6 separate regions of the Homo sapiens genome follow, and regions 1, 2, 3, 5 and 6 are each linked to region 4. Evidence: promoter capture Hi-C in 16 types of primary human blood cells and fetal thymus (Javierre and others, 2016). All regions are on one chromosome and are shown on one strand. Each heading gives the region's core, a stretch centred on a gene start or on the middle of the fragment in contact. The rest is flanking DNA. Distances are from core to core; before and after follow the strand shown.

The links. The method cuts DNA at HindIII sites, captures the fragments that hold promoters and counts their contacts. A CHiCAGO score of 5 or more calls a contact.
Region 1: a fragment that was not itself captured here is called in contact with the fragment with the promoter of NUDCD1 in region 4 in 1 of 17 cell types (M2 macrophages); the score reaches 7.0 in M2 macrophages.
Region 2: a fragment that was not itself captured here is called in contact with the fragment with the promoter of NUDCD1 in region 4 in 8 of 17 cell types (total CD4 T cells, naive CD8 T cells, fetal thymus and 5 more); the score reaches 14.4 in total CD4 T cells.
Region 3: a contact is called between a fragment that was not itself captured here and the fragment with the promoter of NUDCD1 in region 4, in 1 of 17 cell types (M2 macrophages). The highest score is 5.4, in M2 macrophages.
Region 5: a fragment that was not itself captured here is called in contact with the fragment with the promoter of NUDCD1 in region 4 in 2 of 17 cell types (total CD8 T cells and naive CD4 T cells); the score reaches 7.0 in total CD8 T cells.
Region 6: a contact is called between a fragment that was not itself captured here and the fragment with the promoter of NUDCD1 in region 4, in 5 of 17 cell types (total CD4 T cells, naive CD4 T cells, total CD8 T cells and 2 more). The highest score is 10.1, in total CD4 T cells.

Annotation. Positions count from the first base shown.
Region 1 is chr8:110,832,094-110,837,102 of GRCh38, forward strand. No RefSeq gene overlaps it. Among named protein-coding and RNA genes, the nearest start is that of LINC01608, 190 kb to the right of the region's middle. RefSeq lists an enhancer at 153-654. The HindIII fragment of the contact is 4,863 bases long and covers 80-4,942 here.
Region 2 is chr8:108,228,052-108,233,006 of GRCh38, forward strand. EIF3E (eukaryotic translation initiation factor 3 subunit E) reads right to left here. Exons shown (of 13, transcript NM_001568.3): 6 at 1,019-1,144; 7 at 216-340. Among named protein-coding and RNA genes, the nearest start is that of EIF3E, 18 kb to the right of the region's middle. The HindIII fragment of the contact is 4,278 bases long and covers 1-4,158 here.
Region 3 is chr8:107,806,771-107,811,268 of GRCh38, forward strand. No RefSeq gene overlaps it. Among named protein-coding and RNA genes, the nearest start is that of RSPO2, 270 kb to the right of the region's middle. The HindIII fragment of the contact is 5,175 bases long and covers 569-4,498 here.
Region 4 is chr8:109,332,175-109,336,864 of GRCh38, forward strand. It overlaps NUDCD1 (NudC domain containing 1), which reads right to left and starts at 1,913. Exons shown (of 10, transcript NM_032869.4): 1 at 1,719-1,913. The coding sequence starts at 1,836. ENY2 (ENY2 transcription and export complex 2 subunit) reads left to right here and starts at 2,173. Exons shown (of 5, transcript NM_020189.6): 1 at 2,173-2,300; 2 at 3,954-4,030. The coding sequence starts at 2,295. RefSeq lists enhancers at 1,605-1,654, 1,785-1,834, 2,017-2,939, 2,205-2,454. The HindIII fragment of the contact is 6,990 bases long and covers 633-4,690 here.
Region 5 is chr8:108,269,745-108,274,709 of GRCh38, forward strand. All of the region lies in intron 2 of LOC105375704 (a long non-coding RNA gene), which reads right to left. Among named protein-coding and RNA genes, the nearest start is that of EIF3E, 24 kb to the left of the region's middle. The HindIII fragment of the contact is 2,017 bases long and covers 2,256-4,272 here.
Region 6 is chr8:108,204,806-108,209,522 of GRCh38, forward strand. All of the region lies in intron 10 of EIF3E (eukaryotic translation initiation factor 3 subunit E), which reads right to left. Among named protein-coding and RNA genes, the nearest start is that of EIF3E, 42 kb to the right of the region's middle. The HindIII fragment of the contact is 1,795 bases long and covers 788-2,582 here.

The sequences.
Region 1 (5,009 bases), core at 1,261-3,760, 1.5 Mb after region 4:
TGCAGGGGAATACTGAGGTTTAATTTGTCTTATGGAGCCTTCCTAGATTAGAAGGGCTTCAAGTGTGCTGATGCCTTGAAGCTTCCTTGCTGCTCACTTGTGTGCCTCATTAGCTAACCTATTTCCTTTGGCTGCTTTATTTGTTCACTTTTGATGTTCCATATAATGTATCACTGATATTTCTTGTGGAAGGAAAACTGAGGACAGTAACCTATTTATTTCCTGGTGATATTTTATAGAAGATTCATTAGTGGTAAGAAAATGTCTTTCCTTTTAAATGGCAGCATGAGCATGGAGAACTAAGAAAGAATACTTGGAGTCAGTGTGAATGTTAACTACCTTTCCCGTGCTTAATTTAACTGCTCTGTAAGAGCTATTAGTCCAGCTAATTGAGCACTTGTGCCTGGAGAGAGATGTTATTTAGAGTGACTAGTGCATATCCTGCCTTACGCATCGCTTGCTTTACTGGCTGTTTGTGAGCTAAGGGCTCCCCCTAGAGTACAGTAATTTTGCCACATTATGTTGGGTATAAATAGTTATTTCCTAGGGCTAATTTAGAGGCTTTTCTGACTAGTAGAGCCATGGTGACAATGGCCTGGAGGCATGTGTAAACAGTAGGTTCTCCTAACTGTAACTAAGAGGTTGAGAAAAATGTTGGATTAGAGTTTTTCCTGAGATGCGCCTTATGGTGCTATGGGAAGAGGGGAGGCCTGGATTAGAGAAGTGAAGAGAGAGAGACAGAGACTAGCTGTAGAGCTTAGAAGGAGGTCTACTTTACTTCCTTCAATTTACAGAATCACCCAGGGCTCTTGTGCTGTAATGGCAGTTTGAGCTACTGAAGCCGGGGGTTTGAGCCCTGGGATCCATCCGTCCTGCTGGAATATCTGTGAAACTGGTTCCGAACCTGGTGACCTCTACCTCCGGGGTCAGTTTGATCTCCAGTGGTCTCCACCACAGGCTGGACAGGGTCAAGGTGGCTTCCTCTTGCTGTTTGGGCACTCCTTAAAATGCCCTTGCCTGCCACACTGATAGCAACTAGCCGATGTACCTCAGGGGTCCTGGACTTTGTAATCCTGCAAAGCAGCTGCTAGAGCCTTTGTTCTTCTCCTGAGCTTCCTCTTTTTCTCTTAGGCCTCCTCCTGGTCCCTATTATAAAAGACCAAAGTGGCCACCTTCAGGAGGTTCTCTAAGGTGCTCTCTGGTCCTATAACTTGCTTCTGTAGTTTCTTTGTAATATTGGGAGCTGCCTGTGCCATAAATTTGTCCTTTAGAATGAGCTGTCCCTTGACTGAATCGGGGGATAAGGAGGTGGGCACTATTCATGCCTCTTTCAGTCTTTCCATAAAGGCTGCAGGATTCTCATCAGAATTTTGGTGTATCATACACAGTTTAGAATAATTGAGAGATTTGGCCTTAGTTCTTCGTACGCCCTTTAATATGCATTTTAAAAAGTCCTTTCTTTTCCATTTATCTGCAGAGCCATTGAGGTTCCAATCAAGGTTGTCAAGAGGAACTGCTTCACTCCCTATTGGGAATGGAGTTTCTGCTATTTCTTCACTTTCCCTATCTCCTTTCTTCCCTTTTAGTGTATTATAGGAGACACGTTGCTTATCTCTGAAATTCTCTACTGCCTGCAGAGCTGACTGCTTTTTATTTGTGGTTAAGGTTTGGATTAGGAGCAGCATAACATCCTTCTATCTGAGGTAAAACATCTGAGTTAAATTCTGAAAAGCTATGTACCTATTGGAGTTGTCAGAAAATTGGTCTAAGTCTTTATTTGCCTAAGGGACTGTAATGAGAAGGGAGCTTGAGGTGGCCCCAAATAAGGGGGAATCTCAGATGAATCCCTTGGAAGTTGCTTTTTTAATTCTGGGGGATTATTCTCTGTAGGCCTGCCTGATATGCCTGTTAAAAAGGCTGGGTTGACCTTACAATGCTTGCAAATGTTTAGTAGAAATGCCATGCCTTTGTGCAAAAGAAAATGAGTTGCTTTTCTCTTCAAAGTCCTGAAGTTAAAGGAGTACCAGTGTTTCAGGGTGCACTCCAGTGGGGTGCAAGCTGAAGTTGGTTTGTTACCTATCTACAAAAATAAATGAGAATAAAAGTGTCCTTTTAGTTTCTCTCCTTTCACTGTGACCCAGGGTGGAGTGGAATACAGTGGGAGCATCTGCCTGACTGTTTTCTCTCCTTGGTTCCTGAGTCCTGGCACCATGTTAAATGTCCTGGCCATGGTTCCAAGTGTGGCCCTCCAAGCCATGGAAGTGGATGAACTAAGTAATGGGATTTAACCACGCTTTACCCACACAGCCTTAGTTATCCTCCTGTGAATCCATTTTGATTTCCAAAACTTGTGTGATCTGCCTGGCTCTGAAAAAATGGATCTCTGAAAGACTGTAATAGTCACTTTTGAGCAAGGCTTCTTTAACGGAGGGAATGTGCTAGTTGCCTGCTATTACGGCCCCGTGCTAAAACATTCACCCTTAAGGAAAATGGTTCCGGTTACATTCTAAACTTAAAATCCCCTTACCTAATCAAGTACTATTTTAATTGGGAGACAGAATAGGTGCCTGAAATGAACGTAGAGGCCTAATGGCAATTTCTTCTGTAGATGGGACAGTATTGGAACTAAAATTTGGCTACAAAGGACATTTTACTCCTAACTGTTGAAGGCAGAGCTTTCCTATTCACAAAAGGGGCTTTTCTAGAGGCACAAAAAGAGAGAATTGGGAAGCTGCTGTATTAACAGCAAAGGACCTACAATGTGCCCAATCAAGAGGGTTTCTATTTCCATTAGGTGGTGGTATTGGCTGAGAAATATCATGTGCTCACCAGTACTATGGCATTTTCCCAACAGAACTGTTTACATGAACTGTAAAACTTCCTGCACATTGCATAAACAGAGAGGATAGAAGACATAGCAACTGTGGTTAGAAAAGAAGGAAAATTTTGTGACAGGATAGCTGGAGATCCATTACCAACAACCAGATGGGTTGTTGGAGGCCTTTGAATAATGCCATGTTGTGCTTTGGCCAAAAATCCTCAGTTGCTCTAGTATTTCTCCCACCCGCACATGATGTCAAGGTTCTCTATGAAAGAAAATTTGTTTGAAGAGAGTCTTGAGACTAAAGGACAGATTTGAGGTTCACTCCATACTCACCACTCCAATGTTTCTATCTCCCTTCTGATCCAGATCCCAAAAGAGTCCCCAGATGAAATGGCTTTGTTGTCTGTGGAATTACCTGTGGTTTGTTGTCTCACACCTAGAAATAATTCAGTACACAGACACACATGAGGAGTGGGTTTAGGAGAAGGAAGTTTAATTGACAAAGAAGGAGAAAGAGAGAAATCTTCCTCATGCTGAGAAAGCAAGTTGCCCAAGAGGACATCTCAGGGTTTTGGATGGAACACAATTGATTTTGTACAGAGGCTTGAGAAGGCAGTAATTGATTTACTTAGGGCTCAGGGGATTGGCTTGACCAGGTGTGCCATCTACATAGCCCACAAAAAGACTGGGCCTTCTCACCCTAATCTTTTATTATGCAAATGTGGCTTCTACCCAAAGGTCACCATGACACCTACACACGTGGTTTTACCTGGCTGATGCCATGGTTCCATGACACCCGCACACATGGTGGCAAGAGAAAAGGAGCAGGAACTACCATATTGAATGTACCTGGCTTCTAGGTAGAGCTGCTGGCATTTACATATGAAAGCCGATGGCTTGCATATCTATGCTTGCAGCTTGACTTTTAAGACTGCTTTCTGTTAGAACAGAAATGGTTTGGGGGCTGCTTTTTATTAAAGGAAAATTCCACTAAGAACTCTTTTACCCTTTCTAGCTGCCTAAAAATAATTTCTTAATAACTCTTGTATTAATAGTAACCAGGTAAGCTCAAAGCCAGAAATAGCCTCATTTAAAGGAACAAGAAAATTGTTCCAGTTCAACTGTTTCTCCCTCAAAGCAGAACAGCTCACATTTGAGGAGGATAAGCCCAACTTGTGGCTGCTTCCTCAGAAGGGAAAGGAAAGAGTGGAGTATGCTTCAAATGTTTTAGCTTTGGGGGTTAGATGCCTGAGGAGCTGATTTCTGTCTCATCTATTTCATGGCACTGATGGGAAAAAACACATACTTTGAATGCCTGTGGTTGCTGAGCACAAAAGAGAGCTCACTGGATTTGTTGTAGCACCAGAGAATCTACAATGCCACAGTTAGACAACAGGGGAAGTAAGAAACGACAAAGCCTCAAAAAGAAAAAAAAAAAAGGAAGAAGAGAAAAAACCCTGCAAACCTCTCTAATTCAAAAATTACATTCCAAGCCCAGAGAAGAAGAATCTCCATGAAAAATTGAGAGGTCCCCAGAATTTCCAGCTTGGCTGATTTATGGAAGTGTTTCCCTGTATACAACTGGTTCATGAGGACTGAGACAGGAGGTTGTTTTTTAAAAAGGCAAGAATCATAACAAAAAATAAAAAGACACCCAAAGAAACAGAGAAGCATGACCCAATCAAAGAAAAAAAAAAACATCTCCAAAACTGCTCCTGTCTATGAAATATAAAACAAGGAATTCCAAGTAATTATTCTAAAGGGGCTAAGGGTGATATGATAACACAGATAGAAAACTAAATGAAATTAGGAAAATGGTGCATGAACAAAATAAAAATATTAAGAAAGAGATAGAAACTATAAAAAAGAACCAAATAGAAATTCTGGAGAATATAAACTTTTAAAAAATACCAGAAGGACTCATTAGCAAACTTGATCAAACAGATGAATAAGTCATTAAACTTAAAAGGTCATTTAAAAATATCGAGTCAGAGGAACAACAACAATGAAAATAAAAAACATAAAGAGGTCCAAAGGACTCATGGAACACCAGCATGCTGATAAATGTATCCATTATTGGTATCTCACAAGGAGCAGAGAAAAAAAAATGAAGAAGAAAGCTTATTTTGAAAAATAATAAATTCTGATGTCTGAGAGCCTGTGAAGATGCATGTCCCAGCTCAAG
Region 2 (4,955 bases), core at 770-3,269, 1.1 Mb before region 4:
AAATAGCACTTTAAAAGGCTTAGGGTACACTCTGTCAAATAGTTTACTTAAGAGTCACATGCATACTTTTCAGTAACAAGCAAATCTACTACATGAAGAAAAAAAAAAACAGGTGACAACAAATTCAAATGATAGAAAAAAGTATATTTTAAGTTTAAACAACTCCATGTAATTTTATCTAAACAAAGCCAAAATTACACAGTGAAATAACTTACTGTGGCTGATAAAGGAAGAGGTCAATAATATTATCGCGACCTTTGGGGTGATTGAAGAAAACAAACAGAGACCAGTGAATGAGCCATGTTCTCTGCTGAAGAGACTGAAGTGGAGAACTCACAGACTAAAGGATTTAAAAATATATACATAAAAAATATTAATATATAAGAAAGAGGCAGGAGGACAAACATCACTAACTTCAAAACTGTAATTAAAAATGAGCCCCTTCTAAGGCATGCACGGAGGTCATTATGATCAATGTCCGACCCCCTATGCCTTCTCTCTACATGATCCCTCGACATTCCAAATTATTACCCTGTTCTTAGAGACAGATTCAATAATGTCTACTGAAGACGCTCTAATTTATAAACTCTTACAGAAGTTATAAATTATAATCATTTCAGAAAACATTTTAAAAGCAAGAATTAAACTGAACATTTCATAGTAAGTGGTTTAATTAGATAATTGTAGATGAAAACTGTCTTCTGCATAGGACTTTCAATAATAGGTGGCACTAACAGCATAGTGTCATTTTGACTGGCATAGAAAAAAAGGGCACAGTAGCTGTAAAACAGAAATGAAGGCTACGTTTTTTCTCTAAGAGCCAAAAGAAGTCTGACAATTTCATTCAAGGAGATTCAAACTAGTCAAGCCACTAATCCACTATGATTTTTGTAAGGTCAACAAAAGCTAATATGAATTTTTTTTTTTAATTCCCAAAATGCATAGTGATTTTCCTCATCAGAAAGTGTGAAGGATACACAGATATTTCAGAGAATAACTGTGAAAAAGTCGAACTCACATTATTATCTATGGTCTCTTTTAACCGTGTAAGGTCTTCCATGGCTGCATCCCAATTCTGCATTAAGATTTCAGAGGCCAGCTTTCCCCAGAGTGAACTTAAAGCATTTCTATCTGTTGCTGGAACCTGTTTAAGAAATCATAATTAATTATATTGTGAATACTCTTGAAAAATGAACATAATGTATGTTTTATACCCATGTATCCCTCTAGCCTACTAAAAGACCTATAGCTTTCTACAAAAAACTGTAATTATCTAAGTCCTTATTGGATCACACTGGTTTGTTTCAAAAAACCTTTGCTAAAAATACTCAGGTCTTCAATAATCAGTCTAGATAAGAAAATAAAAAATAACTTTTATAACTAGGAAACAGCAGCATCATCTTACTATAACCCACTTCAGATAATTTATACATAACTAATCAAATTTCAGGCACCTAAAACTTCAGAAACCAAGTTAGATTTACATGTAATTTGTCACTAAAATCACTAGGATGAAGATGTGGAAAATCAAGACACGTGAGTCTCATTTACAATGTAATGAGAAATTATGTACAGAACCAAAAAATATTTCCAAATTATGACACAAATGGAAGTCAGTACGGAGAGAGGGAGACAGGAAAAAAGCAGGCCCACTGATTAACAATTAATAGTTATCAAAGGATTATGTACTGAGCAATACAAGTTAGTGTTCTCCTGTAATCCTAACAAAAACCCTATATTTTTTTATCCCCATTTCAAAATGGGAACTAATACATATAGAGTGTAACTTGCCCCAAATTACACTTCTAATCATGAAACCTATAAATTTTACACCACAGTCTTAACCTAAAAAAAGAGGGGACTAAGGGCCATCCCTACCTCTTCTATCCGCTGGTAAAAGAGTCACAAACTCAAAACATCCATAATGACCAGGCTAATAACAATGAGCAAAGCTGGACTCCCTCAAAACAAAGCAGCAGAAGTAGGTAAACTGACTCTGAACCGATCAGATGTGCTAAAGCAATAGAAGCAAGTAAGGGCAGTAGAGGGGGAAGAATACATGTCTACACCTCAAGATGAAATTTCAAATTTAATTTTTTACAGAAGCACTTTTACATAATAGTATAAATATCAAGAGATATCATAATTACAAGTTAAATTATATGTGCAGGATCAGAAATCCAATCAAGAATTCTGTCTCTACCACTTAACAGCTAGTTTGTACTTTAGCTTCCTCACTGCAACATGGGGATAGAACCCACCTCAGTTGTATAGTTTAAGTGACATAAGACATACAGGGATTACAATTATCACCTGATACAGAATAAGAACTTGGTAAATCTGAGTTACTGAAATGATGATGAAAATCATCGCAGAGATAGGTATACAGATTTACATATATTTACATATACATTTACATACGTAAATTTATATTTATCTATATGTAAATGTGTATACATATTTACAGATATATGATCTAAACATTGGGGACCACAATACAAACTCAGTCTATACTGAGATTCTTCCTTTCAAATGTACTAAATAACATTTGGCACACTAAGAGCAGGCAAATAACACAGGGAGTAGATGTGTAAATTAAATTTTGAACCACTCCTGGTTCTAGTTATTATCACAAAGTATATCCACAATACAACTTGTACATGCATATTCATACTAACTTTATTTTTAATAGGCAAAAACGAAAAGTAATCTAAATGTTCATCATCAATAGATGAATATATTAAACAGACCATGGTAAATTCACAGAATGAAATACTACTGAGCAATAAATAGAAACTAACTTCTGATACACACAATAACATGAACCTCAAAAACTTGCTGGTAAAAATAAGCCAAACACAAACATACATAGTACATCATTCCACTTACATACATAAAATTCTAGAACAGGCAAAACTAATCTACAGGGACAGAAAGCAGGTCAATGGATGCCCAGGACCATGGGTGGAGTATGGCCACAAAAGAACAAAAAGGGTCTTTCTGAGGTGACAGAAATGTTCTTTATCTTGACTTAATGTAGCCACACAAGTACACAAATGTTTCAAAATTCATTGAAAATTTAAAAACTGGTTTATCAAAATCCATAAAATAATTGTTCTAATTACAAAGGATAAAATGTTTAATTCTTATAAAGGATATCTGAATATAAAAATATATCATCGAGTCAAAAATGCCATCAATTTTAACATACATTATTATTTTATGTTTCTAAAACCAAAAACCCAGTAAAGACACTTTCTGATTTCAGATGTTAAAATATGCAAAACTATGCTTGAAGATCAATATTAAATGCACAATTCTTACAGTGACATCACAACAGGATACAACAGAGCCAGAATTTCAATCAAGATCCTAATGCCTCTAAAAATTATCATTACTCATACTGTCTTGAGCCTCAAGGAAAAATATTTTTAAATGAAGTGGTATATACAAACAGGAAATACATTTTACATCCTGAGGGAGGGAAAGAGACAGCTCCAAAAGTATAACAAATAGTCCTAGGAACTAAAATCACTTTTATTTCAAAGAGCTGCTGAATAAGGGAATGGGGTATATTATGGAGCCAGATCAAAGGCCACAATGAGGGAAAATTTTAACAAAATAATCAATAGTGCTAATAACTGTTAAAGCAAAAGTGTTCAAAAATTCCCACCAAACCAGCTTCGTCATTTTATTTCAATTAACACATTTCTTGGAGTATAAATCAAAGAAGTTTCACACCAAACAGAGTGTACCTGAACAATTCTCAATGTATTCTAAAATCCACGAGTCTTTTCTTTTTTTTTTTAAGGGCAGATTCTAGGGTCACACAGCTTTAATTTATACAACACTGACCTACAATAGGTCATTTGGAGAGTCAAATTCTAATCTCAGATCATAGTTACAATAGCTCTTTCATAGCTTATGTTTCCCTAACCACAGATTTAAAAGAATAATCAACCACCAGAAAAGTATTTAGAAATAAAAAAAGGCCACTGCAAAAAATAAAATTAATTAACTAAAAAGTAAAACACTGACATTTCTCATCCCAAATCCAAACAAGATTTTTAGATTTGCTATTAACAAAACTTCAAACAAATACACAGATCTTGTGGTAGTGGCTATCTAAATCAAAAGAAAAAGATATCTATTCTTTTAAGCTTGGCACTGTTAGCCTGCCAATATGCCAACAGGAAGCAACAAACTCTCGCCTAACACAAATGTTTTGTGGCTCAGACAGGACAAAAATTTTAAAACGAATTGAATGTAACTTTTTAGAATTTCCAGTAACTCTATGTTGACTGTTCTTGATGTAAAACATATTAACTTAGTGTTTGTATCACAGTATTCAATCACTTAATCAAAATATCATTTGAGTTCCAGCACAAGATTTGTTAGGGGCAATGCAAAAGTTTAAAACTAACCCTCAAATTTTTTTAAGACCGGGAATTAACTTGTATCGTCATATTTTAAAAAAATAAACATAAAAATTCACCAAACCTACAAGTACAAACCTGTCACTTGTAGAAATTTTCAGACTAATATAAAACCATACTACATAAATATAATACTATTAACACTAGAATGTGTTATATGTGTTAGAATAAAAGCTTTTTGTAGCAGTGTAGCAAGTTTTTTAATCCTCAAAAGGTTCATGTGTACTACTCTGGCTAAACTCCATGTCATTACAGTTGGCTCTTCATACTAACCTGCTTTCAAGGGTGGATATGCTAGAAGAGTTTCAATATCTGGATTTCCAGCAGTTACCTTAAGTTTCCATGTCTTAGCAAAATGGCACATTCACTCACTGACCAGCAACAATAAATTTACTGTGCTGGAACTCTAACATGACACTAAATCTTCATTCTCAAAATTCACTCCCAGCATTAACAAATGATATAAATAACCAACTCTTTTCATGTACCTGTAATCATACCAGGCTTCTGATTTTACAA
Region 3 (4,498 bases), core at 1,906-4,405, 1.5 Mb before region 4:
TTTATTATTTGCTAGTTATGGGATCTCCCGCAAGTTACTGTTCTTTGTTCCTCAGTTCCCTCATCTGTAAAATGAAACTATTAATATTAAATGTATTTGTTCTCAAGGACTTAATGTGGATTAAATTACTAATAAATGATTAAAAAACTAGAATAGTGCCAGGCATGTGGTAGGCATTCCATGAATGTTAGCTAGCATTGTAGTAATAATTCTGTCAGATATGAAATATCTTGTCTAGCTTATAGTGTACATTCAAAAGAGAAGGCTTTTATACTTAGCTTATGAAAATAATGTGGCATAAATGAAGTGGTCACAAAGGCAGCCAAAGCTACAACAATTCTTGGAAAAACTAGAAAACTTTTCTTATGTTGGCACTGAGCATTTTTCTGGACATAGTAGATACTATGGTATAAGGAAGTACTTCATTACAGTATCACTTTCATATCTATTTCATTTCCCGATTTCATCAATATCCTACTGCCCAAATGAGAATATTTGCTGCCCACTGAGGAATTAATTATGGGCTTATTTGGCTAATGTTGCTTTGCCAATTGACTCTCTGGTGTCAAGCTTTCCTCAGCCTGCTTTCATTGTAGAACCCACCAGCTGTATACACACAGACCCACCCACAGACATACAGAGATAGAGGCTCAAGCTCACACAGAAATAGAGATTCAGACACACTTCCTGGATATAAATCTTAATTATACTTGAAAACTTACGAATTTCATAGAAGTGCTTACAAATAAACATGTTGAAATAATGAGATTTTTACCTGAAACTCCTCCTATAGTTCTCAACTTGGTAAATGGCATTTATCATTTCCATCTGCCCAGACACTCAAACCAAAACTGGGAAGCCACCTGGTCTTCCCTCCTCCTCTCTTTTCCTGTCTGGTTCCTCTCTTTTTTCTATGCAGTCCCTTGGGTACTTCATTTGACCCCCAAGTGTAGCTGCCTTAAGCTCCCATCAACGTTCATCATTAGAGTGAGGCATTGAAACTAACTTTGGCCTTTAGGAATGAGCCTAGGTTTGAAATTAGGCTGAACAAACGAACTGGGGCAATGTTTCCGTCAGGAAGGAGACTGCACACAGTGATTCCCCACAGCAAGAGGAGTGCAAAAGCACACCTTGTCCCTTTACTCTCTCAACTCTCAATTGCTTATCAGAAACAAACATAAATAGCAAATCAACTCATGTGTACCATTGCTCTGAAACTGAATCTTTCATAAAAGCTGAAACAAGGCCCTTGCATGCTAGCAGTAAAAGAAAACACATCACAATTCTTACAATGCCCCAAGGCCAAAGTGAATCCCTCTTGGAACAGAGGAATGCTTCTCACTTCACTCCAGCGATTCAGCTGGAACATCTTCTGGCAAAGAGATATCTTGAAATATAAAGGTATTAACCTGAGAAGGGTAGTATATCAAAATGCTGTTATCCATTTAACACTGAGACTATCTGGAAAACAGCAAGGTCCTCACAAGCTGGGACTTGGATACATTTTACAGAAGTTTATAGAAGTAAACTCCTAATCAGGTAGCAGTGTTCAAAGAAATTATTGACAGATTTAGCTTCAGAGTAAGAAATTCTAAGTTGCCAAGGAGTAACATGAGGACTTTGGCTGTTTGATTCCAACTATTTCTGGATGAAGAGGACAGTGTTTTCTCATTGGTTCACAAAGGGGAACCTCCAGATCAGTCTCTGCAGCTGGGCCAAGTTCCACAACTCATACCCATTCTGGTCTCAGTCAGGTTCTAGTGACCTCTCCCCTTCCCTAATTCCTGTTCTGCATTTGCCATGAGCAGACGATTTTGACTTTATCTCAAGCCATCAGATAGGACAGGATCTTTCTAAGACATTGACCACAGCAGATAAAGACAAAAAAAATAAATAAAACCACAACTCTCTATCATAGAACACTGAGAATCAAACATATTGTTAGAAGTCAGATAATCCAACCTTTTTGCAGTTATATAAATTTTGAACATCCTTAATTAAAACATCATTTTTAACAGAGATCTTATGTTCTTGTCTTTCCAGCATCCTTTTCTTTGGTATTTTGTTAGCTACTCCCTTATTTTATTTTGAAGAACTATCCCTCCCACAATTTTATTTCATGTCGTTCTGGTGAAGCTGATTCTACTTCTGGCTTTTGTGAGAGGTGTGTTTTTTCACCAGTCTCAAAAGTGGCGGTTGAAATTATCTCATCTCCAGGCTGCAGTGATTGGCTCAGGGTGGACATGTGGCCCAAGCCAAACCAAATATAGCTAATCCTGGGACTATTGCTGGAATTTTTTAAGAAACAGCAACTCTCTTTTTTTAAGGGATTGCTAATCAGGCAGGATATAGTCCTGAAACTTCTGGAGGCCACAGTGCTTCCTCTTGGAGACAGCCTGCCTGAGAATGAGGCCAACAGAGAGAAGCAGAGGTTGTGGTTGGAACAAATAATGTTCCCGGAGACATTATTTGATTACCTGGATTTAGCCATGCTGGGACATTTTAGTTAAATAAACCAGGATATTCCTTTTTGGGCCAAAGGCAACTTATGATGAGTTTCTGTCCAATAAAGCGCAAAGCAACCAATTCACCTTCTACAACTTCCATGGCAGGAAGTGATTAGCCTTCTCTTTAATCATTCCAGATGGACAGATCTTCATTTTCTACCAGGACTCTGGGTATTGGGTTCTGAGGCTCAGTTCTTCCTTGTATTGAGCAAAATCTGCTGTCTTTAATCTGTACCCACTACTAATGCTTTATTTGTTCATGCAGTTCCTTGTTTAGTTAGGGAACGGCAAGTATAAGAGATTTGAGGTGGATTCGAATTTTTGTATGTTGAAGGAACACAAAGCAAAAAACCAAAAACTAATAGGTCTTGACCCTAGTGAGTGAGGGGCATGGAGACATAAGTGGGTGAAGGTCTGTCATAGGAAGATTGGAGTTCATTGCAAGAATAATGAAAAGTCACGGGAGTGTTAACACACAGGAATAGTGTGGTTTGAGCTACAATGTTTCAAAGATCCCATATTATATCCATTGAAGCACTAGAGGAAGCCAAATCTCTGTGCTACTGACAGTCCCTCAGAAAGTTGAGATCTCTGGTATCCTCCATAATTTTCTTCTTTTCTAGCTTAAATATCTTTGGCTTCTTCAACCATGTTTCATATAGGGTTTGTAGATTCTACAACAACACAGTATCCTCCTCCAAACTCATTGTAGTTTGTCAATGTGCCCTCTAAAATACAGTACTCAGATTGAACACAGTAACTCCAGATATTGCCCAACCAATGAATAATATGAAATCATTATTTTCTTTATTCTATCCCTCGAGCCCTATTGGTGCAGTCACATTTAAGGCAACCATGTCATCCTGTTAACTCTTAATTAAATCAATAATGCTAGCTGAGGGCATATTACTTTCAATTAAGTCAAGTTCTAATTAATTGTTATTTTGTGAGAGAAATATACAGAAACTTATTTTCTGAGTGGATTAAAGACTCCTTGAAGGTCTTTATATTACAAGAAAACAGGGACAAAAGTTGATCTCATTCAACTTTTGTACCTACAAATTGAGATAAGAAAAAGTGAAGTTTAATTTGAACAAATGACCCGATTGTATCTGGAATTATTAATTTGAACAAATGACCAGATTGTATCTGGAATTATAATCCCATTAGGGGATTAGCCCGTTTGTAGCCACCATGGAGAGAAGCCTTTAAGGAATACATATTTAAAGCCATTTGCAACCAGCTCTATTATTAAAATCAATTTTAAAGCATCATAAAAGTCTTTTGCTCCAGAATTAGAAACAGTTTTAACAAAAGCATTGAATTTTTATGTTTGAAGAATCTTTGGAAATCATCTGATCCAAAGTTTTTATTTTATAGATAAGCCAATAGCCATAGAGGCAGAGAAATGTCCAAATTGACTTATCCAGGCAATAATAGAACCAGAACCAGAACTTAGATCTCTTCTCTTCCATTCCAGCACTCTGCCTGCCATAACACATGCCTCCTTTCTTCAGCTTTGACTGTACACTTGAATGTTTTCATTTCAGGGGTCTGTCATTCATGAATGAATTGGGGGAGAACAAGAGTGAATGTGGGGAAAGCCATCTTAAAGATTGTTGCAGTGATTCAGGGAAGTCCAGAGTTCTGAAACAGGGGAAGGGTAGAGGAGGTATGTAAAGCTGCACATATTCCAGATATGGCTAGGAGTTTGAGAAAAAGAGAAAAAAACGAGGATGAACATTGAGTTTCTGACATGAACAACAAGATGGTTAGCAACGCCATTCACAGAAAAACTAGGTTATAGCGGTGAAAAGCAAGAGATTAGTTTGGCCCACTGATTTTGTGCAACATTCTACACACTCAGTTGGAAATGTCCTTTAGGCAGTTGTAGATACATGTCTGGGGTTCAGGAAGAGAAAGTGCAATAAGTACCTTTGGCTCACTCTTTCTTTGAACAAATAATATGGGAACATTGATTTACAGAGGGC
Region 4 (4,690 bases), core at 663-3,162:
GATAGAATTTAAAAGGCCGATAAGTACGTCTTATGGAGAATGCAATGACGAAGCCCAAAAGTGAAGGCAGGAAGGCTAGTCAGGAGGCTACTAGAGTTCAGGTAAGAGATAACTCTGATTTGGATTAGGGTGGAGGCCTAGAGATATCAAAATGTGGAGCTGACCGGACTTGCTACCAAGCAGACAGTGGCTAAAAGAAATAAACCCCAAATGACTCTGGCACAAGTGTCTCTTGGTACCAACCTGGGCTAGTCTAGTCGGCTAAAGGATAAGAGACCACACGGAGAAAAGTCAAGAGGAGACCATGTGAAAGAATCTTAAACAAGCTTATAGTCTGAGACCCTACCCCCACCCTCCAAACATATGAGGAAGTCCAGCCAAATGAGCAGAGCTTCCCAGCAGATCCATTACTGAACAAGGATGCATCAATGAGCCCAACTAGGACTAGAAGAACCACTCAGCTGACCCGTAGACTTGTGAGCAATAATAACTGCTTCTTGTTTTGAGACACTGAATTTTGGCTTCACTTTCTAATGCACTAACTAAACATGGTGATACCATCTACTGACATGGGGTGACTGGAAGAAACACGGTGGCAAAGAGGAAAAGGAAAAAAATAAAAAGAAAAATCAAGCTTATCCTCTCTCATCCTAGTCAACTCTTAACCTACCCTTCAAAGCTCAACTTAGATATTAACTCCTCCAAGACGCCTTCCCAGATCCCCAGACTAGTTTAGGAAAGATATTCAAGTACTACCATTGTATTTTGTACATATCCCTATCACTGCCTTCCCATATTGTTTTACAATTATCTGTTTACAATTTTCTTCCTAACTAGCTAATAGTCCTCTTTTGTTACGGAAGGTGTCTTGTTCATTTTGATATTATCAGGACGTAACACAAAACAGGTACTCGGTAAATATTTCTGAATTTAATAAATCAATTAGCATAAACTTATTTTATACTTTAATGTCTGTTATTATAATTAACTGTAGATCACTATTTCTCAAAGTGTGATCTCTGAAAACATGCATCAGAATCAGCAGGGGTGTGAATTTTAAAATGCAGATCTCTGGGCTCTATCATAACGAAAATGCCGTTAAGTTGTAAAAACAAGAGTAAGGATATTCTACCAGCTACAGATAAAGCAAGGAGTAGCAGTGTGGGAGTAAATCCACTTTTCCTCACTATCTTCTAGAGATGTTCTCTACCAGAGTTCTTAATGTGCCAGGAACTGAGTAATTAAAAATGCTATGACTGGAATGTAGTTTCTCTTCTAAGAAACGGCTCTCGGTCAGAGGAAACAGGAACTGGGGGTCCTCCAAGGAGGTGTGGTTTCTCAACGCACACGTTCACAAGCGATGCTCCAGGAGGAAGGAATGTTCTCAGCGTCCCCCGAAACAGAAGCCAGGCTGTGGACACACAGCAGCCAGAGCCCCAGGCACTACCCGCACGCCAGCCCTCAGACCTCAGACCTCAGAGGCTGGGCTGCTGACGGAGGGGGCCCAGGGTCCCGTTACCGAAGAGCGCGCGAAGGCGGCTCCCACCGGGTTCTGGGATGGGCATCATTCCCCAGAAGCAGCGGCCTCCGTGAGTCCACGCAAGCCGCCACGGTGGCTTCGCTTGCCAGTCAGAAAGAAAGAAATTGCGGGAAGGGTCAGGCCGGAGGCAGCCGAAAGGGGAAAGGAACGGAGTACGAAGGGCGCCGCCGCTTCCCACCTGCGTCAAGCTCCAGCTGGTAACAAGGCAGCGGCTCAAGAGAGAGCTTGTAACCCTCGAAGCGGGGATCCAACAGAGGTCTCTTCACCCGTAGGGAGCAATTAGCCGCCACCTCCATCGCTTTCCAGGGCCGCAGCGTGAGAATTAATAAAGCCCTTGTTGAAAGGTCCGCGCTTCACGCCTCGCACAGAGACTGGGAAGCGGCGTGGTTCCCATCCCAGAAAACACTGCGGTGCGAACTGCCTTCTGGGAAATGTAGTGTCCGTGAAAAAGTTGAGACTGTTGCATGCTGGGCTATGTAGTTCTCCTGGTACTTAACGCGCGCGCGACGGCAAGGTCTGAACTCTGTTACCCAGAGGCCCTAGCAACCAGGAGGCGGCCCGCGCTGGTTAAATTCTCACATTATAGGCAGGGTGGCGAGACCCCGCCCCGGAAATGCGTGTTCTAGCTTTCTGTGTGCTTAGGTGCCCGAGCTACTGAGGGTCTAAGTCCGGGCAGCCGAAGAGTGTGGTAGGTAACGGTCCTCAGCGCAAGGGTCATTTCGTCGCTGGGAAGGGACGGCCCTCGCCCGCGGTGATGGTGGTGAGCTATGCCCGTGGTCCTCAGGGCCGGGACCCGGGCCCAGCCCAGGCTCCTTTCGATGTACTGTCTTTCGTTAGCGTCCCCGACCCGCGCTCGCGGGCCTGTAGGGCTCTCCGACAGGGCGTGCTACCGGAGTTGGCCTGAAACCAGTCCTCGCTTTGTTTTCTGGCTCCTCCTCTCCCGCCTCTCCCGCTGTCTCCGCCCTGTTCTATTTTCCCTAAGAATGTCTGAACTGGGAGGGATACCCTAGCGCCCTTGTTTTACCAGTGAGAAAACTGAGGCCTTTAAGAATTAAGTGACTTGTCCAAGGTCACTATCCGTATTTTAGGAGCCAAGACGAGATCAAGTTCAATATTCCAGGAGTGGTACTGACTAGACCTTGTAGTTATTTTGAAAATGTTAGCCTCCAATTACAAAAGCAAGCATTTCCTAGTTCTCACTCAACTTCTCCTTTTCCCTGTTCCTCTCAAAAAAGAAAAAAAAAATCAACTCTGGTAACTCATTGCCAGTCTGAATTTTCAATAGGCCAGATGGAAGACAACAAAAGTAATCTCAAGTTAGTGACAGATTAGGTGGGAAAACGTTAGTTTACGCCAAGTTTTATTTAATTTAAACTTTTAAGTGGCTTTAACGCTTTCAAAACCTAACTTTCCTCTTCTTTCAACATCATTTTGGTTTGGGTTGTCTGTTTTTACTGACAATTGAGGACTTTGTAAGTTAGGAATTAGTTTGAGATTTGTTTTCTTCTTATCCCACCAGCAGTGTGTGTGTAAACACACACATCCACACACTTAGGTTTAGCAGTTGTAATTGTGGGTTCATCCTAGTGAAGAGTAAAGCAAAACACTTAGAGCCTTATCTAGTAATTTTATTTTTTTTGATTAATTAATTTTTTTTTTTTTTTTTGAGACAGAGTCTTGCCCTGTCACCCAGGCTGGAGTGCAGCAGCGCAATGTCGGCTCACTGCAACCTCTGTCTCCTGGGTTCAAGCGATTCTCCTGCCTCAGCCTCCTGAGTAGCTGGGATTACAGACACCTGCCACCAAGCCCAGCTTATTTTTCTATTTTTAGTAGAGACGGGGTTTCACCATCTTGGTCAGGCTGGTCTTGAACTCCTGACCTCGTGATCCACCTGCCTGGGCCTCCCAAAGTGCTGGGATTACAGGTGTGACCCACTGTGCCCGGCCTGGTAATTTTATTTTTTTACTAATAGTATTTAATCTTTTTTTGATGTTTAGTATGTATGACTTCTCCCAATTTTTGGATGCAGTCTCTGCAGAAGTGATCGGCAGTTATGTTCAGTTTTGGAGCTCCTAGGGTCAAAGTACTTGAGTTCAAATTTTGCCTTTCCACTTTCTATCTCTGTGCCTCAGTTTCCTCATCAGTAAAATACAGATTATTTTATTAATATAAATATGTAACAATACGTTCTGGGAATTAAATGTGATGTTTAAAAAAAAGCAAACCCACACTGCATTAGCCCAGTGCCAAGCACATAAGTGTTTAATAAAGAGTAATGATATTATTAACACACTTGAAATGTATCACCCCTTCAGTTAATAGAATGGTAAACATGTTAGGATGCCTGCCTAGAGGATTTAGCAGAAAATGCTTTGTAAATGTTCTATATCTGAAAGTACATGTTGATGTCCAGGTTAGCAAGATGAACAAAGATGCGCAGATGAGAGCAGCGATTAACCAAAAGTTGATAGAAACTGGAGAAAGAGAACGGTAAGTAATAGATTGTGTTAATAAATTACATTTCACCGCCTTTAATAGTTAGCTTGTAAGAATCTAAACAAGAAATGAAACATGTCACTGGAAAGAATTACAATTGAGATTATAAAAGTTTCTATTCCGAACATCTGGAAAAAATAATTTAGGTTTGTTAAGTATTGCAGGACTTGGAGGGAAGTGGTGATGTAGAAAGATGAGCAAGATATGGCTCTTAAAGAGTAATTTGATGGAGAAGAAAAAGTACATACCTGAATTACAACTGGAGACATAATGTTACCTGGGTTTTAACAGGGAGACAATGTTGTGGAACCAGCTTCATTTACCAAGCTCTCAACCTTGGAGCAGCAAGTGCTGTTTCCACTCTCTAAAACATTCTTCCTTCTCTTCCTTTTTAGCTAATTCTAGCTCAACTATCAGGTCTAATTTATATATTGTCTCTTCAAGGAATGTTTTTAAGTCCCAAATACCTTGTTCCATCATAGCATTTAATCAACATTGTGTTCTAACAATCTACTTGGCTAGTTTGTATCCTCCAGTATAATCTAAGTTCTTTAACACCAAAAACAACATTGTATACCCAGCATCTAATGCTTTGTTTGGTTCATAATTGGCCACGTAAATATTTGCAGAATCAACAGGTTTAGAAGTACAAAG
Region 5 (4,965 bases), core at 2,014-4,513, 1.1 Mb before region 4:
TAAATTTCAAAAACTATTTTTCAGTGTACATTCCAATAGTGTTCAATATATTCATATTGTTGTGTAACACATATTCAGAACTTTTCATCTTGCAGAACTGAAACTCTACCCATTAGACAGTAACAATCCATTTCTCCCTCCCCTCAGCTTCTGGCAACCACCATTCTACTTTTTGTTTCTATGAATTGACTATTTTAGATAGTGGAATCATACAGTATTTGTGATGTTGTTACTAGCTTATTTCATTTAGCAGAATGTCCCCAAGGTTCATCCATGTTGTAGTATGTGTCAGAACCTCTTTCCTTTTTTTAAGGCTGAATAATATTCCATTGCGTGTATACCACAATTTGCTTATCCATTCATCTATCAATGAACAATGGGTTTCTTCCATCTCTTGGCTATTGTGAATAATGCTGCAATTAACATGGGTGTGCACCTATCTCTTTCAGATCCAGCTTTGAATTCTTTTGGAAATACATCAAAAAATGAAATCACTGCATTATACTATAATTTTATTTTTAATTTTTTGAGGAACTGCCGTATTGTTTCCATGGTGACCATATCATCTTACATTATTACAGACAGTGCACAGAGGTTCCGATTTCTTCACATCCTTGTCAATATTTATTATTTTCTGGGTATTTTTTTTTTTTTGGATGGTAGACATCCAAATGGGTGTGAGGTGATGTCTTATTGTGGTTTTAATTGGTGTTTCTCTGATGATTAGTGATATTGAACATCTTTTCATATGCTTGTTGGTCATTTTTATATCATCTTTGGTATATGTGCTGCCAAAGTGAGCACTGTATATCATCTTTGGAGAAATGTCTGTCCAAGTCCTTTGCCCATTTTTTAATCAGGCTATTTTGTTGTTGTTGTTGAGTTGTAGAAGTTCTTTATGTATCCTGGATATTAACCCTTCCAATATATCTTTTTAAACAAATGGAATTACACTTTGCAGGCTGTTTAGCAAACTATTTTTTCATTTTATATATGTTGAATATATTATTTTATATTATTTTGCTACAGGATTTATATTCTGTCATATCTATAGTATACTTTTTAATGCTTTCTCTATTGTAGACACTTTTACTTTTGCTATTATAAATAAAATTATACTGATCATATTTATTAATTTTATGGATAATTTCTGTATTAGCTTCCTGAGGCTGTTGTAACAAAGTACCACAAATTTGGTGGGTAGAAACAATAGAAATTTATTTTCTCACAGCTCTGGAGGCTATAAATCTGAAATCTAGGAGGGCCACACTAATCCAGGGACTCAAGTAAAGATAATGTTCCTTGGATTTTCAAGCTTCTGATGGCTGTTGGCATTCCTTGACTTGTGGATGCATTTCCTCCCTGTTCATTGCTTCCTGCTCATTTGTCTGTGTGTTCTCCCACTGCCTCTGTCTTATAAGGACAGTTGTCATTGGGTTTAGGACCCACGCAGATAATCAAGGATGATCTCATCATCCCAAGATCCTTAATTATATCTTCTTCAAAGACCCTTGTTCCTTATAAAGTAACATTCACAAATTCCTGGGGTTGGAACATGGACATGTCTTTTAGGGGAACACAATTCAGTCCACTACAGTTTTATGAAGATAAATTCCTAAAATTAGAATGGTTAGTTCATGGTATGTAAAATTTAAACATTTTAAGATAAGTATTTCAGAATTGTGCTCCAAAATGACTTTGAATTTTTAATGTTCTTAAACACATGTGTGTATTGTGTCTTCATGCATAGACACCATGCAATAACGTATATGTGTGTTGTGTGTGCATGCATAGACACCACACAATACATATGTGTGTGTTGTGTGTGCATGCATAGACACCGTGCAGTAACATAGGTGCACCCCATAAAATAAAAAAAGGAAAGCAAAGAGAAAGTTGGAGTTAGGGAGAAATGAGAAAAACAATGGTAGGGACCACTCAGAGGTGCCCTTGATAATCTTAAGTACTATCAGTAGCTGTTTCAATAAAACATACTTTATTGGTCTATGTCCAGAAAAATGGCCAAACTTGTGTTTTGATCTATTTGCTTATGTCTGTCTTGTTTCTCTCTAGAAATATGTTTCATTTTTCAAATCTTTGCATTTTGGTGTAAAAAGTTAATCTTCAATTTTGACCAATGAACATTTCCATGAAAAAAAAAAAACTTTTTATTCCACTTTCTTCATTTGTCACATAATCTTTGATGTATGGATTTGTGAACTTTTAAAAAATGATTTCATGAATAAGATCAGAAAAGCTTTATACATACGTACGTATGTATGTATTTTGTTGGGAGGTAGAAAACCACCAGTATGGAGTATTTCTTTTATTAAACATAGTTGAAAAGTTCACCAAAAAGGAGCTTTGTTCCAGGATAAAAGTCATTTTCAAGAGCATTTAGGTAATAAATCATGTGGAATTGTATTTTCAATACTTTATCATGAATAGCAATCAATCACTGGTTTCTTGATAGAGGGTTACTTTTTGTAATCAACTTACAGAGCTCATTACCCATTGAGTGTGAGTTCCTTCAAAAGTGGAAGCAATGCACTTATTCCAGCAATGTGATCATTGCTCAAAACTCATTTTTAAACTTGCCTTAAAACTAACTGCTTTTAAATGGAGCATTAAAGAGTCTCAAAAATAAATCAATTTCATTTATCTGATAAACTCACCTAGTTTTTATTCCATAATGTACATTTATTTTTCAGTTTGACCATTCATTGACTTGACTTTGAATAACTTCTATTTGGTTCCAAAAATCAAGTCTACCTTTGTGGAAAAATAATTTGCCACCAGAGGAGGATACTCAAAAGAATATGCTGCTATATTTTCTAAAAACAATTTAAGCTACAATATTATCATCAGAATAACCTCACCTGGGGAGGTTACTTTGAGAGACAGAATACTCAGAAGTGTTATTTGTGGTATGTTTTTACTAATATCCTGACACAATACTATGACGTAACACAATAGAATCATAAGAAAATAGATTTAATGAGGGACAAGCTACCCTTGGTGTTTTTCAAGTCAAATTTTACAAATAAAGAAAGAGGCAACTTAGGCAACCTAAGTAAGTTACAGAAGGCTAGCCATATTCTCAGTTGGTGATGGAGGTTACGGAGATCCAAGTCTTTTTTTTTTTTTTTTAATTTTAGGGCTTTTAAAAAACCCCTATAATATAGTGAGCTGAATTGGCAAGTGGCTAGCAAAGTTTAATCTGCAGATGTGCTCCTATTAGCTGGAAATTTTAAAATATGATTGTAAATACCTTTAGGTAGGGGGAATAATTCTTCACTTCATATTAGCAACAGGTTTTAGTCATGTCTGAAACATATGGCCCTTGGGTAAAGTTGTTAGATTTAGCAAATAAAAGTTTGAATTTCTGATAACACTTAATTTTTTACTCTGAATATGCTCCAAACATTGCATGGGATATACTCATACTCAAGCTATTCATCGTTCATTTGAAATTAAAATTTAACTGGGCATCATATATTTTATTTGGCAAACATAGCTTTGGAGGATATGAAGCATATATACTGCCATTTTGAATCCAGTCTACCAGCCAGATGTGGCAGAAATATTTACTATTCACTAAACAGGTTTAGGTTCTCCCACATTTTGCAGCTTCCTTAAAATTAGGCAGAGCCATATGACTAGTTCTGGCCAGTGCTATGGTTTTACAAATGCTGTTATGTCAGTTGACTAATATACTTAAAAGCCAAACACAATTCTCCAGGTCACTCATTGCCTGTTGCAGTGAACTAGAACCATGTGTTCAAGATGTTCTAGATTCAAGACCCAGCAGCCTTGGATCCCTGAAGAAAAGTTGGATCGAAGGTACTCAGAAGAACCACGGGACCTACAGCATACTTTGTGTGTGTTGGGAACAATCCTTTATTAGTTAATCCACTGAAATTTTAGGGTTGGTTCGTTCCTGCAGCTTGGCATAAACTATCCGGACTAACACACTGTATCATCACATGAATTAAATAAATTCTGTGAGTCTAACTTTGTTGTTGTTGTTGTTTAATCTTCATGGAATTGCCATCAACTTGTCAGATTTATTTGGAGGACTGAATGAGAATTACAAGTAAAAGTCTTCAGCATTCTGTCTGCTGCCTGGTAGGTTGCAGCAAATGAGACCAATATTTAATGATAACATGTCCATTATGAGTATTATTTTAATTATTATAGCAATCTTATGAAATTGGTGTTATTATCTTTTCCATTTTATAACTTTCCGTATAAATTTTATAAGGAAAATGAAGCTTGGAGTGGTTAATAAATTTGCCCAACATCATTTCACAAAGCTCTTGTTAAAAATAGAGATAAGTCTCTATTCCAGAACAGTCTAACTCCAAAATCCCTATTTTCAAATCCATGCCACATACATATTTTCCTGTGACATACAGAAGCCTGTTTCTGTGTCATTCATTCATTTTTAACACAAATATGAATTCAGATGCAGTGGCTCACACCTGTAATCCCAGCTACTTGGGAGGCTGAAGCAGGATAAACCCTTGAGCCCAGGAGTTGGAGGCTGCAGTGAGCTATAATTGTACCACTGCACTCCAGCCTGGGCAACAGAGGGAGACCCTGTCTCTTAAAAAACAAACAAACATTTATATATATAGATTGATTGTTGACCTCATAAAATGCCATGTGTGTTAGTATGTTTTTGTGTTGCTAGAAAAGAATACCTGAGACTAGGTGATTTATAAAGAAAAGTGGTTTATTTTGGCTCATGGTTCAACTGGACTCTTGATGCGCCCCTAGTGGAAATGTTCTCCTTTGGAAAGCAGAATCTCTAGATCCACAGAACTCAAAGATCTATGCTACAATAATAAAGAAACCTTAAATTTCAGTGAAGATCAATCTTTAGGTCATTTAAACAATTAGCAGCCAAGAAGAGAAGAAAAAGGTAGAAAAGGAGACCAAAAAGGAAGTGGTCAGTTATGA
Region 6 (4,717 bases), core at 435-2,934, 1.1 Mb before region 4:
GAATTTCAGATAAAAGAGACAGAGGGAGCAGACCAGACCATGAAGATCTTGATCTAAAATACTCTTTGATATCAACCAATCTGCATTTTGTATTTTTCCAATTTTATGATCAGGTTGAAGAGGGCCATTGCAGAGCTTAATTTATCAGAATTAAAAACACACCAGTCTTAGTAAATAGGTTAAGTCAGTTCCGCTGATGGAAGAGTACCTACATATGCATGTAAAATATTTAAGAGTATGTAGTATACATGCATGTATGTATGTGTGTTTATATACTGTCTTTTATCTTCATGGAAGCTATCAGGTCTCAGCTAAAATAAGACCCTCATAAGCCTTCTAAGACACCTCTCCCATCTGTGATACATCAGTTAGGTGCTTTCATAGCACCTATTTTTGCTATAGTTGTTTTACTGAATATCTGCTTCCAAGGTAGACCGTATACATGTAACCAAAGTGCACGCACCGTATCTTCCTCATTCACTGCCGTTATGTCCAGCAATTAGCAGCATGACTCCTCATACACAGGAGACGATAAATATTTACTGTCTGATTGATTCTTATTCTAGTCACTACCCTAGTCCAGGCTCCATTACTATTTCTTAGTTTTCTAACTACTTTACCTCTTGAGTCTCTACAATCTATCTTACACATCTGCCAGGTTAGTTCTACAACCCAACTACAGTAGTTCCCACTTATCCGTAGTTCCACTTTCTGTGGTTTCTGTTATCAGCAGTCAATCCCAGTCTGAAAATATTAAATAGAAAACTCCAGAAATAAACAATTGATAAGCTTTAAATTGTAAACTGTTCTGGCTAGCATGATGACATCTTGTATTGTCCTACTGTCTCACCTAGGACTTGAATCATCCCTTTGTCCAGCATATCGACACTGTATACGCTACCCGCCCATCAGTTACATAGTAGCTATTCCAGCTATCAAGTGTCTTGATATCACAGAGCTTATGTTCAAGGAACCATTTTTTACTTAGTAATGGCCCCAAAGTACAAGAGTAGTGATGCTGGCATATTGTTATAATTGTTCTATTTATTATTGTTGTTGTTAATCTTCTACTGTGCTCAACTTATAAATTAAACTTTATCATAGTTATGTGTGCACAGGGAAAAACCTAGTCTGTATTGGGTTTGGTACTACCTGCAGTTTCAAGCATCCTCTGGGGGTTTTGGAACATATCCCCTTGGGTAAGGGGAGACTACTATACCCAGTTTATTTCCAAATTCCTTTCAACACTTTTAACTTTCCAAGTTCCCATCATTCTCCTTCATAAATATAACATGCCAGCCAAACCAAACCAATCCTTTTACTTTGTTGACATTTACTCAACAAAATACCAACCGTGTTAGATGCTACTGGCAAAACATCCTCTGTTGCCAGCCTTTACAGAGTTTAAGTCAAGGGGGTCTTGACTTAAACATCGCTTGATCTTGGGAGGCAGAGGTTACAGTGAGCTGAGATGGCATCACTGCATTCCAGCATGGGCAACAAAGTGAGACCCCCATGTCAAAAAAAAAGAAAAAGAAAGAAAAAAGAAAAAGTGGAAGGACCTATGTATGTGAAATGCAAAAAGGTCTACCAGTTCTAATCTGGAGATTTGGGAACAGCTTACCTAAGGAAATGATATTTAATCTTAGATTTTTAAGACCATAGAGTGAAAATTCCATTCTAGGCTGGATGTGGTGGCTCATACCTATAATTCCAACACTTTGGGAGGCTGAGGCCAGAAGTCTGAGACCAGTCTGAGCAACACAGCAAGATTCTGTGCACATGTGCACACACACACACACACACACACACTGGCATGGTCGCACAGACACACACACACATACACACGCACGCACGTACAGTGGCCTGCACCTATAGTCCCAGATACTCGAGAGGCTAAGGTGTGAGTATCATTTGAGCCCAGCAGTTTCAGACTGCAGTAAGCTATGATTGCGCCACTGTACTCCAGCTTGGGTGACAGAACAAGATCCTGTGTCTTTATAAAAAAAAATTCCATCTTATGTAATAACTCTAACTAGAATTCTCTATCCCTCTCTCTTTCTTTACATCCATATTCTAAGACTCATTCCAACATAGCTGGTGTAATTTTGCAACAAGCATCAAGATCCATAAATGCCTGCACGCTCTGAGCCATATCTTACTTTGTGGATCTTTGTTTGCACTGTGCTTGTTGATCTTTTATTTGTTGATCTTTACTTTTCGAAGTGAATCAGGTCAAAGAAAAACCTGAAATAAGGCCCAAGGAATACTAGTAAATAATTGATGGCATCTCAGTTTATCTAAGCTGCTGATTATCACTCTGACTGAATTAAAGAATGTAGAAATAATCTGGTTTCAGTAACATGAAAATACACTCAGTAAAAGAAACCAAATGATTAATAGGCCTGTAATCTCAGCACTTTGGGAGGCCGAGGCAGGAGGACTGCTTGAGCCCAGGAATTTCAGACCAGCCTGGGCAACACAGCAAGACCCTGTCTCTACAAAACGCAAAGGAAAAAAAAGGACTAATAGAAATCATCAAAGTCTACAGATATTAAAATAAAAGTGTAATATCCTATCAAAGCTTAAAAGGCTGTCCCTGGTGGTCTAGTGGCTAGGGAGAAATAAAACCAATTTTAAAAAGACAAAAAGTTGGCGTAACCTATCCCAGAACATGCTTGCCTCATGTTACTGAAAATAATTCAATTTATTAATAAACTAAAAGACAAAATCCATCAAAATGCAGAATTTCTGAGAAAAATATCTAGTCCAATCCAGATTTTAAACACCCAAATTTCTAGATTATTTAGATTACACTAAAAATCTCAACCTTGTCTGTAGGCAGCTTAAGGTAGATACTTAAATATGTTCTGTAAATCCTTTATAAATATCTTTAACCTAACTAGCTCTGCTGCTCAACTGACACACACACAAAACACAACATCGAATATGTTAAATAAGATATGCACAGAATTCTTAAGTGCTATTTCAAAAGACAAAGCAAAAACAAATCTTTCATCCTCAGTTCAATTTAATTAAACATGTTCATGCTTCTAGCACAAAATGAAATACTTTGTTTCCAGGAAGTAAAAAATAACAGAGATCCCACTTAAGGACACAAGATAAATTTAAGTCTTGATTTAGGGAAATATTTTTTTGTTTCCAGGAAGTAAAAAATACCAGAGATCCCACTTAAGGACAGAAGATATATAAGTCTTAATTTAGGGAACTGATAAGGGTTGTATCAACTCTAGATTTTCTATCAGGTTTTGAGTGCCTAATCTTTCAAATGGTCTTACTTTTCTAAACCCTCCCATAGCCACCATCTTCCCCCAACCTCTCATCTTAACAAACACTTGGAAAAATAAGGCCTGGGGATCTGATATTTCACCTGTCTTATTAATTACCTCTTTGAATAACCTGGCTTTCCAAATTTTATCTGATAGGCACAATTTATTTCAAAATACTGCTGATTTAACCATTTGGATATAGAAACCTCTGGTCTAGTTTTCACTGAAGACTACTGGCCAACTATTCAGCATATCCAAAGAAAAGTACTCCAAGTCTTTTCTAATTAGTTTAAGACAACTAATTAAAGAATCAGTGTTAAGTGTAAACTATGTTTAACTGTATGATTGGGAGGAAACAGGACAAAGAAAAGAGGAGAAAATTGAGAAATGCTAAATCCTTATGTGAAAACTGAAAATTATCTCTTTATAATCTTATAAATAACTGAACCTTATTGATAATGCAGAAATGCAATGATAATGGCCTTTGAAACTGTTTGTCTCCATACATTTACATTCTAAATGTAAATTGTTATGTGGTAATAAGAACTTTAAGAAAAATATTAAGAACTAAAATATAACTTAATAAAATAAGCAAAGTAGAATAACTTCAAAACTTAAGTAACCCCCATTGGGAAATTATACTAATGTATGCTCCAACATGTTTATCATACACATCCAAAATATTACTTCCATAATTTGTTTTCATCTACAATTGAAAACTCGTCCAAGAATTATTTTAGAACAGCTTTTAAATTTCAGACACATACCATAGCTGATAAAATGATTCAGCTATACTAAATTAAACCCCAACACAGTAATCTTTTTTGACAGATGTTGCAAACTTTATGGTAAACAGATTTGTAACTTATCCTACATATCAATAAGGTTGTATAAAAACATATAAAACATTCTTAATATGCATTTTTATAAAGCTGACTATCACATGTGCTTACAGGCATTTAGTCAGGAAATCTATTAACAGAGAATGTTCCAAATTACAAATAGAGTTATTTAATAAACAATTATGGGTTTTATAATACTATTTTCAGCATTTGAAATGTGTCCTTTGGTGGGAGAAAAAGAAGCTGAGATATATCCTTTCCCTTCCCCCTCAAAAGACAGAACATCAGATAGCTTTAAACTAATTAAAGGCAAAAATAAGCCAGCATAAACTAGTGAATGGAATAATATGCCATAGTTAGTATTCAGTGGAAAAAAGTCTATTTTGGGGCTTAAAGATATTTCATTTGGAGAGTTATCAGGATTCACTGACCCTACCTAATTTTCTTCTCATTGTTCCCCAATGCAGAGTGACTAGAGAGAATGATATGGACCTATTTTTAATAATGTGTAACTTCAAATATGAAATTTTGAAATTTCCCAAAATTACAAATATTTTCAATAATTTGTAACTTTATATTTATTTG